2 separate regions of the Homo sapiens genome follow, and region 2 is linked to region 1. Evidence: promoter capture Hi-C in human tissues and cell types (Jung and others, 2019). All regions are on one chromosome and are shown on one strand. Each heading gives the region's core, a stretch centred on a gene start or on the middle of the fragment in contact. The rest is flanking DNA. Distances are from core to core; before and after follow the strand shown. Region 1 holds the start of FAM110B (family with sequence similarity 110 member B). Region 2 overlaps LOC105375856 (a long non-coding RNA gene).

Region 1 (4,494 bases), core at 1,877-4,376:
TGCATCATACCAGGAGCCAGAAGAATGATGCAAATCAAAGTAAATGAGAATTGGCCCTAGGAAGTTGTTTTCTTAAATAAATTCAAGATGCAAGTAGGTTTCTGATCATTTGTTTCTCTCTCCTAAAAAGTTAAGTATGAAAAAAAGTTCAGATTAGTTGGAGATCTCTAGGCTCAGCTGATCAATCTGACTCTACAATGGGAAAATAAAATAAAGTGAACAGTTTCATAATAATATTTTTACAAGCAATGTTTGTCTAGCACCTAAAATGCGATGGCTTTCAGACAGAAAAATGGCCAATAGTCTACAAATGTTGAACATATAAAGTACAAATTTAAAAACAAACTGTATTCCCAAAAAGATTGTTGGACAGTGTCTGGTTGGTAAGAGTATGTTTTGGGGGGCAGCAAACAATGGGATTGCTAAATTAATCCCTGGGATTCTACTAGACCATACATATGCCTCCTCCACCAGCCTTGTCCACAGCACCATCTACTGCCAAGCCACTGTGCCTACAGCAGTTTTGCTTCTGCAGGGCCCTAAGAGTTAATACCATGCCTTCGCTTAGCTAAGTTATTTAGGAATCACGATTTTTTAAAAAGTCACTTCAAAGTTAAAGGGGAAAGGAGAACATGAAATAAGAGTAAACTCCTGACAATCATTTAAAATATCTAAATAGGAAACACAATCTTTGGTTACTAACACATGGCAAATAAGTAGTTTTAAATAAGTGAGTTTTCTTATCTTAGCTAGTTAGGCTATAAATCCTGCTCTAAAATATTTTAAAGCATGAAAAAGAATTAAATGCTCTGGTTGTTGTATATACAGTAGACATATTTATCTTTTATCATCTTTTAACACTGTGAGAGTTACTTAACTCTGCTGTACCAACGGTTCTTTCCATTGGGAATTGGAAGTGGGATTCTAAACCTAGAGAACAAGGGAGTGCAGGGGAGGTAAGGAATGGGGTTCAGAGCCCAGGTCTTCCCTAATGTGGAGGCCTCTCTTTAAACAATTAGGCTCTTAAAGACAACCAGGTCTCCTTATGAAAGGCACCAGGGCATGACTGGGTTCAAGACTGATGTCTTGCCCTTAGAGATCCAATATATAAGATGAATTAAATCAACCCTCACCATGCATAAGGATACGCAGAGAAGCCTGTCAGTCATAGGCATAATAACAACCCAACCTCAGCCCTGATCTAAAATTAAAACCACAGACTTAAAATAGATCATGACCTAACAGATCAGAATTTTAAAAATCAAAACGACCATTTTCCAAACAGAAAATAACACATAGCTTGATAAGAAAAATTAAAAGTAATATTAGCTGACACCTAGAACTATATGCAAGGCACTGTTCTAAGCACTTTATGTCAGGCTAACAAGGCACCAACCACCTCTCTGTTCAATTAGTGACTTTACATGTACAATCTATAGTAATACTACAGATTAAATACCGTAGGGTAAACCAATGGGATGTTATCAGTGAAGGATTCTAGTTTACCATTAACTCACCTTTATTCTAGAATAACTATGCTTAATAAATAGCTTACCTGAATGACCAGGGGTTGTGATGTCACAAAAATGAGTACAAGAAATTAATACAAGTATCTTCCCAGAAATCACTACGTGTAAACTGGGGGGAAAATAATAAATACCTTCTTCACCAACAAAGGAAACGAAGAAAATGGAAGTCCTACTATCCATACTGCAAAAATGCTTATTCTACTATCATATTCCCTTTTGAGAAATAGACCAGTTACGCCAGAAGTGCAATGTTGTCACAGATGTGTGCCAGATTTTGCAGAGGACATAAGTTGGCTGTGAGGAAGAACACAGAGGTTGCCTATTTTTTAGGCAGGAAAGAAAGCCTGCACTTTTCTGTGTGTGTGTGTCAATAAATCTGAATAACAACTTGAAAGGGTTAAAAAGCTGAGCACCAGGTGTTTTCTTTCCACTTTCCAGAGTAATTTAAGCACACTGCAAAGTTATCTCCCTTCCTTCCCCACGAGCCAGCTTAAGGGAGACCTGTCACTGCCATTTACACTGTACAGCTCCAGCTCTAAACAATAGGAGGGCACCAGGCTGGGCAGCAGGCATCGCGGCTTCCCACAGCCTGTATGGGCTTTGTTGCCAAGTTATGAGCTCCGCTGGGTGATGGAGACACGAGTGAGCCAAGGAGAATTTAATTCTATTTCAAATCTGTATGCTTTCAAAGAAAATAGAGACAATTGAGGCCACGGGAGGAGCTGGAGGGGGTAACCAAAAACAAACTTTCGGAACCTCAGAATCTACATTTCTAGCAGTAATTCTCAGCAAAGGATTAGGTGGTATTGATACTCTCATAAAGTATTTAACACCGAGATTAGAGACCATTCAGGAGCGGTGGCCGAGCGGAGTCCCCATCCTTCGTAGTCCCACTCCTCCAGCAGCAACCGGCGGCGCGCTTTCGGAGCCCACCTCCGCTCCGCAGCGCGGCCAGCTTCCCCCCGCCCTGGCTCCAACCCCGGCTCCAGCCCCGGCCCCGTGCCCAGCCTCCTAGCCGAGCCCGGGACGTGCAGCCAAGCCGAGCGCAGAGGGGGCGCGGGGCAGGCAGCGGCGCTGCGCCTCCCCCGGCAGCCCAGAAAGCCGGACGGGGTCCGCCTGGGCCAGTGAGGCCGGGCTCAACGGAGACCCGGGCCGGGCGGGGAAGCTGCAGGCGCAGAGCCGGCTTAGCTCCGCGCCGCCTGGCCGCGCGCAGCTCCCGCATTGTCCGCAGTCGGGGCGCGGCGCGACCACTGAACCCGAATCCCAACCCCCGCCCAGCAGTCTCTCTCCCGGCCCCCACGGCCCAGTCTTACCTGGGCCGCTCACCCCAGTCCCTGGCGGTGCGGCCCGAGCCGGGAGCCAGGCTCCGGGGGACTGCAAGGAGGGAGAGTCGGGGCCCGCGAGGGACGAAGGGCCGAGAGCGGGCTGTAGGGGCCGCCGAGTGTTCACGGTCGCCGCCGCGGGGCCGCGGGTAGAGAGCAGACGGGGCTGGCGGAACGGGCCCAGGACGCGCGGCCGCGAAGGGCCCGGCTGGCGGCGGCCGCGATGGTTCGGTCTGCACCGAGTGGGAGGGCTCAGGCAGGCTTCGCCGGAGAGTGAGGGAGGGAACTTGGAGCCAGTTGCTGTGGCCGAGAGCGCGTGTCCCTGAGCCAGTGTACACGCCCCTCGTACACCCCGCCCCGCCTCCATCCCGCCCCCACCCCACCTTCCGGGTCCCCACCCTTCTCGCACCTCCACTCCAAGCCCTGCCTCTCTCTCAACATCTCCACCCCGCTACTGATGCCCATCCCACCCCATCCCTGACCCACCCCCCATTCCACTCGGTCGGCGCCTCCATTTCCTCCCTATCCCCCACTCCCACCTATGTCCGCACGCAAGCACCCCCACCCTGCTCCCACCCGGTGATACCGCTGGATCTCGGACTGCCACCCCAGTGCAGATCGCTCAGCACTGGAGACGTAGAGCCTGTGCCCTGAATGAGATAACCCCACCTGGTAGTCCAGCCATCCAAACGTCTTGGTGCTTGACATTTTCTGTTTACTAACTTTCATATACTCAGATGGAGCGTCCTAGCTTAATTTCTGAAGGCATTTTTAAGACTTCAAAAAAATGTTTGGAGAAAATAGTAAATAACGAAAAATATCAAGCATGATGTACTACCTCTGAAATGTGGGCCAGCTGATGTTTTAAAATGAAATGCTTTGGGGTGCGTCATTATTAATCGCCTAATATAGTATTTGAGAATACTTTCTGCTTAGATTTGCTTAATAACTTGGTTGTTTCAGGAGAGGATTTGTTTTAGGAAGACTAAACACATTGTAATTTAATTTTGCTATTGGGAAGTCTAAAAGATAAAATCCATCTTTATCAAAATGAATTTGAATGGGATATGGACTCACAAAATAATTGTTTCTTCTAGAAAATATTGAGCAAGGATTTCTTTTTAATCTCTGGTACATTAACAATACGATTTCACTCATCTCATTTTCTCAGAAAGATCGTTTATATTTGAATTGTGCTTCAATTCAATGAATCTATTGTTTCATAATAGTTAAGAAGTTGCCAACTAAATAAAACTCAGACTTTATAATAATATATTTTTTTTCTATTTAAAGATTACCATTTTAAGAAAGTGACATGATACTGGGATTTAAATGGAACTTTCCTTTGGCATACTAATACATTCCTTGTTATCACAGATTACGTTGTGGTCTCCATTAACTCCAAAAGTCATATAACAATAGAAATAAACTATTTTTCATCATTCCCATAGCAAATGGAACCAACTTCTCTCCCTCTCAAGTATACTTTTTTTCCCCACTTCTTTGCCCCAATCCCTTCCTTTTAGGAATTTCCCCCTCCCATTGGGTGTGACTAGCCCACAGAGCTTCCTGACATTGTGAGGGATATGACCCAGGCCAGCCAATTAGAATATCGTCTGAGAACAAAGGAGGAGGGTCCTTTC
Region 2 (4,888 bases), core at 96-2,595, 48 kb after region 1:
GAAATCAACACAAAGAAACTTCTAAAGCAATTCAGGAAGTGAAGGAAGAAATCAGTCAGGGCTTCTGGAATTGAAAAACTCACTTAAGGAATTTCAGAATACAATTGAAAGCTTTATCAGTAGACTAGAATAAGCAAAAGAAAGTGTTTCAGAGATGGAACACCAGACCTTCAAACTAACCCAGTCCAACAACAACAACAAATAATAATAATAATAATAATAATTTTTTAAAATAAAGTCTTGAGAAATATGGGATTATGTAAAGCAATCAAACCTATGAATTATTGGCATTCTTGGAGAGAAAGAGAAAATGTAAACAACCTGGAAACATATTTGTGGGAATAATTCAAGAAAATTTCCCGAATCTTGCTAGAGGTAGACATCCAGATACAAGAAACCAGAAAACACCCATGAGATACTATACAAATGAACATCACCAAGGTATGTAGTCACCAGACTGTCCAAGGTCAACACACACATACACACACACACACAAACAAAAAAACAAAAAAACCCTTAAAGGTAGCTAGAAAAAAAGGTCAGATTATGTTCAAAGGGAACTCTAGGAGGCTAACAGAGTACTTTTCAGCAGAAACCGTACAAGCCAGGAGACCTTGGGCGCCTATTTTCAGCAATCTAAAAGAAAATAAATTTCAACCAAGAATTTTATATCATGCCAAACTAAGCTTCATAAGTAGATAAATAAAATATTTTCCTGACAAGAAATCACTAAGAGACTTTATTACAACCAGACCAGCCTTACAAGAGATGCTTAAGGGAATTCAAAACATGGAATCAAAAGAACGATACCTGTTACCATAAAAATGCACATAAGTACATAGCCCCTGGAGCCTGTAAAGCAATCACACAATAGGAACTACAAAGCAAGCAGCCAACAGCTTCACCATGGAATCAAAACCTCCCATATCAATGTTAACCTGGACTGTAAATGGTCTAAATGCCAACAAAAGGCACAGATCTGTTTGTTATCCTCAAGAGACGCATCTTACACCCATAGGCTCGAAGTAAAGGGTTGGAGAAAGATCTATCATGCAAATGGAGCTAAAAAGAGTAGGGTTCACTATTCTTACATCACATAAAACAGACTTTAAGCCAACAATAGTAAAAAAGGACAAAGAAGGGCATTACATAATGACAAAGGGCTCAATTCAACAAGAAGACTAAACTATTCTAAATACATACACACCCAACATTGGAGCACTCAGATTCATAAAACAACTACTTTCAGGCCTAAAAAAGACTAGACAGCCACACAATAATAGTAGAGGACTTCAATACCCCACTGACAGCATTATACAGATCATAGAGGCAGAAAACTATCAAAGAAATTCTGGACATAAATTCAATTCTTGACCAATTGGACCTAATAGACATCTGCAGAATACTCTACCCATCAACCACAGAATACACATTCTTCTCAACTGCACATAAAACATACTCCAAGATCAACCACATGCTCAGCCATAAGGAGTCCCAATACATTCATAAAAATCAAAATCATACCACCCATAATTGCAGACCACGTGGAATAAAAGTAGATGTCAATACCAGAAGATTTCTCAAAACCACACAGTTACATGGAAATTAACTTGCTTCTAAATGTCTTTTGGATAAACAATGAAATTAAGGGAGAAATAAAAAATTATTTGAAATAAATCCAGAGACACAACATACCGAAGTCTCTGGGATGCCCCAAAAGCAGTGTTAAGAGCAAAGTTTAGAGCATTAAATGTCTACCTCAAAAAGTTAGAAAGATCTCAAATTAATGATCTAATATCATAGCTAGAGGAACTAGAAAAACAAGAACAAACTCACCTGAAAGCTAGCAGAAGAAAAAAAATAACTAAAATCAGAGCAGAACTGAATGAAATTGAGACCTAAATTATTATTAAGGGAAAGCAGTTTAGGCTGTCTACGTGGGAATAATAACCAGAGCAAATGTAACATTTCTATTCAATTCACCAAATACTATTGGGGGTACTGGGTTTGGTAGGTGATTAAGAGGTAAATAAGCCTGTCCTTGAACCCATGAGAAAACGGGAAAATTATGAAAATGACATGACGTTTGTTTTCTTTTTTTTTTTTTGAGATGGAGTCTCACTCTGTCACCCAGGCTGGAGTGCAGTAGTGTGATCTCACCTCATTGCAAACTTCACCTCCTGAGTTCAAGTGCTGCTGCTGCCTCAGCCTCCCAAGTAGCTGGGATTACAAGTGCCCACCACCACACTCAACTTCTTTTTGTATTTTTAGTAGAGACAGGGTTTCACTGTGTTTGCCAGGCTGGTCTCAAACCCGTGGCCTCAAGTGAGCTGCCCAAGGGCCTCCTAAAGTGCTGGGACTACAGGAAGGAGCCACCACCACCAGCCTGACATGACTTTTTATATTTATTTATTTATTTAGAGATGGAGTCTCATTCTTGTTGCCCAGGCTGGAGTGCAATGGCATGATCTGGGCTCACCACAACCTCTGCCTCCTGGGTTCAAGTGATTCTCCTGCCTCAGCCTTCCGAGTAGCTGGGATTACAGGCATGCATCACCACGCCCAGTTAATTTTGTATTTTTAGTAGAGACATGGTTTCTCCATGTTGGTCAGGCTGGTCTCGAACTCCTGAGCTCAGGTGATCTACCCGCCTCAGCCTCCCAAAGTGTGGGGATTATAGGTGTGAGCCACCGTGCCCGGCCTGACATGACTTTTTCTTAACGAAGAAATGTCACTTTTATTTTAATTTTTTTTTACTAACACTATATATAATTACTTCGGAATTATTTTACTAACATTACATATAATTATTTTGGAAAAATGAAATTACACAGAAGAGCAAAATAAAGACAGTAAAAAATTATTCATTGTTCTATCATCTAGGCATAACAACCCTTATTTATGTACTTCTGGGTTCATGTTTCTATTTCTCTATGTATACTCTTAAGAAATCAACTTTGTTGAGATAGAATTTAGACACAATAAAATATCCCACTTTGAGTGTGCATTTTGATGTGTTCTGACAAGTATATACAACCGTGTAACCTCCACCATTATTAAGGTCTAGAATATTTCATTGCCCCCAAAGTTTCACTTTTGCCCATATTCTGTCAATCCCCACCAATACCACAAACCTCAGGTGTGCACTGCACTGATCTGCTGCCCATTATTATAAATTGTTTTCACTTTTTCTAGAATTTCACAAAATGGAATTATATAGCATACACCCTTTTGTGTCTGACTTATTTTGCTCACCATAATTATTTTAGCTTGCATCACATTTTTGCAAGCATCAATAATTCATTTGTTTTCATTGTTGTGTAGCATTCCATCATATGAATATACCATAATTTGTTTATCCATTTGTCTGTTTTTGGCCATTAAGAATAAGCTGCTGAATATTCAAGTTCAAATTTTTGTTGGAACATATATTTTTTGTGAAGAAGTGGGGATACCTAGGAGTTGAATTGCTGGGCCATAGGGTGAGTGTATGTCAAATTTTGTAAAGAACTGCCAAGCTGTTTTCCAAAAAGTGTTCGTACCTTTTGATTGTCCTAACAGCAAGGTATAACAGTCCTCATGACTCCACATCTTTGTCAACACTCAGTATTGTCAATCTTTTTAATTTTAGCTATTCTAGTAGATGTATAGTGATATCCCACTGCAGCTTTAATTTACATTTCCCTGATGAGTAATGACGTTGAGCACTTTTTTCAAGTGCTTATTGGCACATCAGTATATCTTCTTTTGTAATGAACCCATTCAAACTTTTCGCTTTTTTTTGAGATTCTCTGTTTCTGTATTACTAAATTATAAGAGTTCTTTATATATTCTGGATACAGGTTTTTTTTTGTGAGATTTACGTATTGTGGCTACATTCTGCTGGACTACTGCTTGCTTTTTCATTTTCTTAACAGTACGTTTGAAAAAGCAGAAATTTTTATTTTGATTAAGCCCAATTTATCAGCTTTTTATTTTATGATTTATATTTTTTATGTTCTATCAAAAAATCTTTTTCTACCCCAACTTTATGAATATATTTTCCCATGCTTTTCTACTGGAGGTTTAATAGTTTGTTTACATCTATGATCAATTTCAAGTTAGTCTTTATATTTGGTATGAGGTATGGGTCAAGATTCATTTTTTATTTTATTTTTGTATATGGAGATACAGTTGTTACAGCACCATTAAGTGAAAAGAGTATCATTTTCCTATTGAATTACCTTGGTATATGTTGAAAATACATTGTCCATAGAAGTGTAGACCTAATGCTGAAGTCTATATTTTTTCTACAACTCTAAATGTCTATTCTTATGCTAATAGCACACTGTCTTGATTGGTACAGCTTTAATAGTAACTCCGAAGCCTCACCTACCAGCACTGCTTTGGGGAATCTTAAGTGTCTTCAGAAATCTCCGCTGTGATGGTCAAGCCAGTTTCTCCCAAGGATTGCCCCTATAAAAGTGCACCTCATCTTTAATAAGACTTTCCTTTCCACAGAGGCCCTTTTCAATCCTAATTGAGCAACTAGACTTTAATAATTGTGGAACGCACTCACTATGTGGATAATGCACCTCATTTGTCAAGTATATTCCCTATGTGGTTTGTTTATGTCTTCTTCCCCTCTTTAGCATTGTGAACCTAAGAAAAAATTCTCTTTGTATGGCAATAAACTGTGTGATTTGTGAACTCCTACTTTGATCATCTTATTTTCACCACACAGAATAAATAGAGAAAAATGTTATCAGCTAGAAACCGCAAAGTAATTAGTATGATGCTGCTACCTGGTAAAATCTTTGAACATAACATTTTTTTGGTGACTTATAAGCAAAGGGTAAGAGATGTTAGGACCATGTTGGTTTACAAAGAAGAAATCATGGTAAGCAAA

Evidence for each region. Contacts are between HindIII fragments. The study calls those that stand out against the background at their distance.
Region 2: a fragment that was not itself captured here is called in contact with the fragment with the promoter of FAM110B in region 1 in 1 of the 25 tissues and cell types used here (bladder).

What each region holds. Positions count from the first base shown.
Region 1 is chr8:57,993,155-57,997,648 of GRCh38, reverse strand. It overlaps FAM110B (family with sequence similarity 110 member B), which reads right to left and starts at 3,126. Exons shown (of 4, transcript NM_001377989.1): 1 at 2,843-3,126. RefSeq lists an enhancer at 2,175-2,675 and silencers at 2,680-2,729, 2,750-2,799. The HindIII fragment of the contact is 16,250 bases long and covers 1-4,494 here.
Region 2 is chr8:57,942,747-57,947,634 of GRCh38, reverse strand. All of the region lies in intron 2 of LOC105375856 (a long non-coding RNA gene), which reads right to left. Among named protein-coding and RNA genes, the nearest start is that of LINC01602, 33 kb to the left of the region's middle. The HindIII fragment of the contact is 3,076 bases long and covers 1-2,883 here.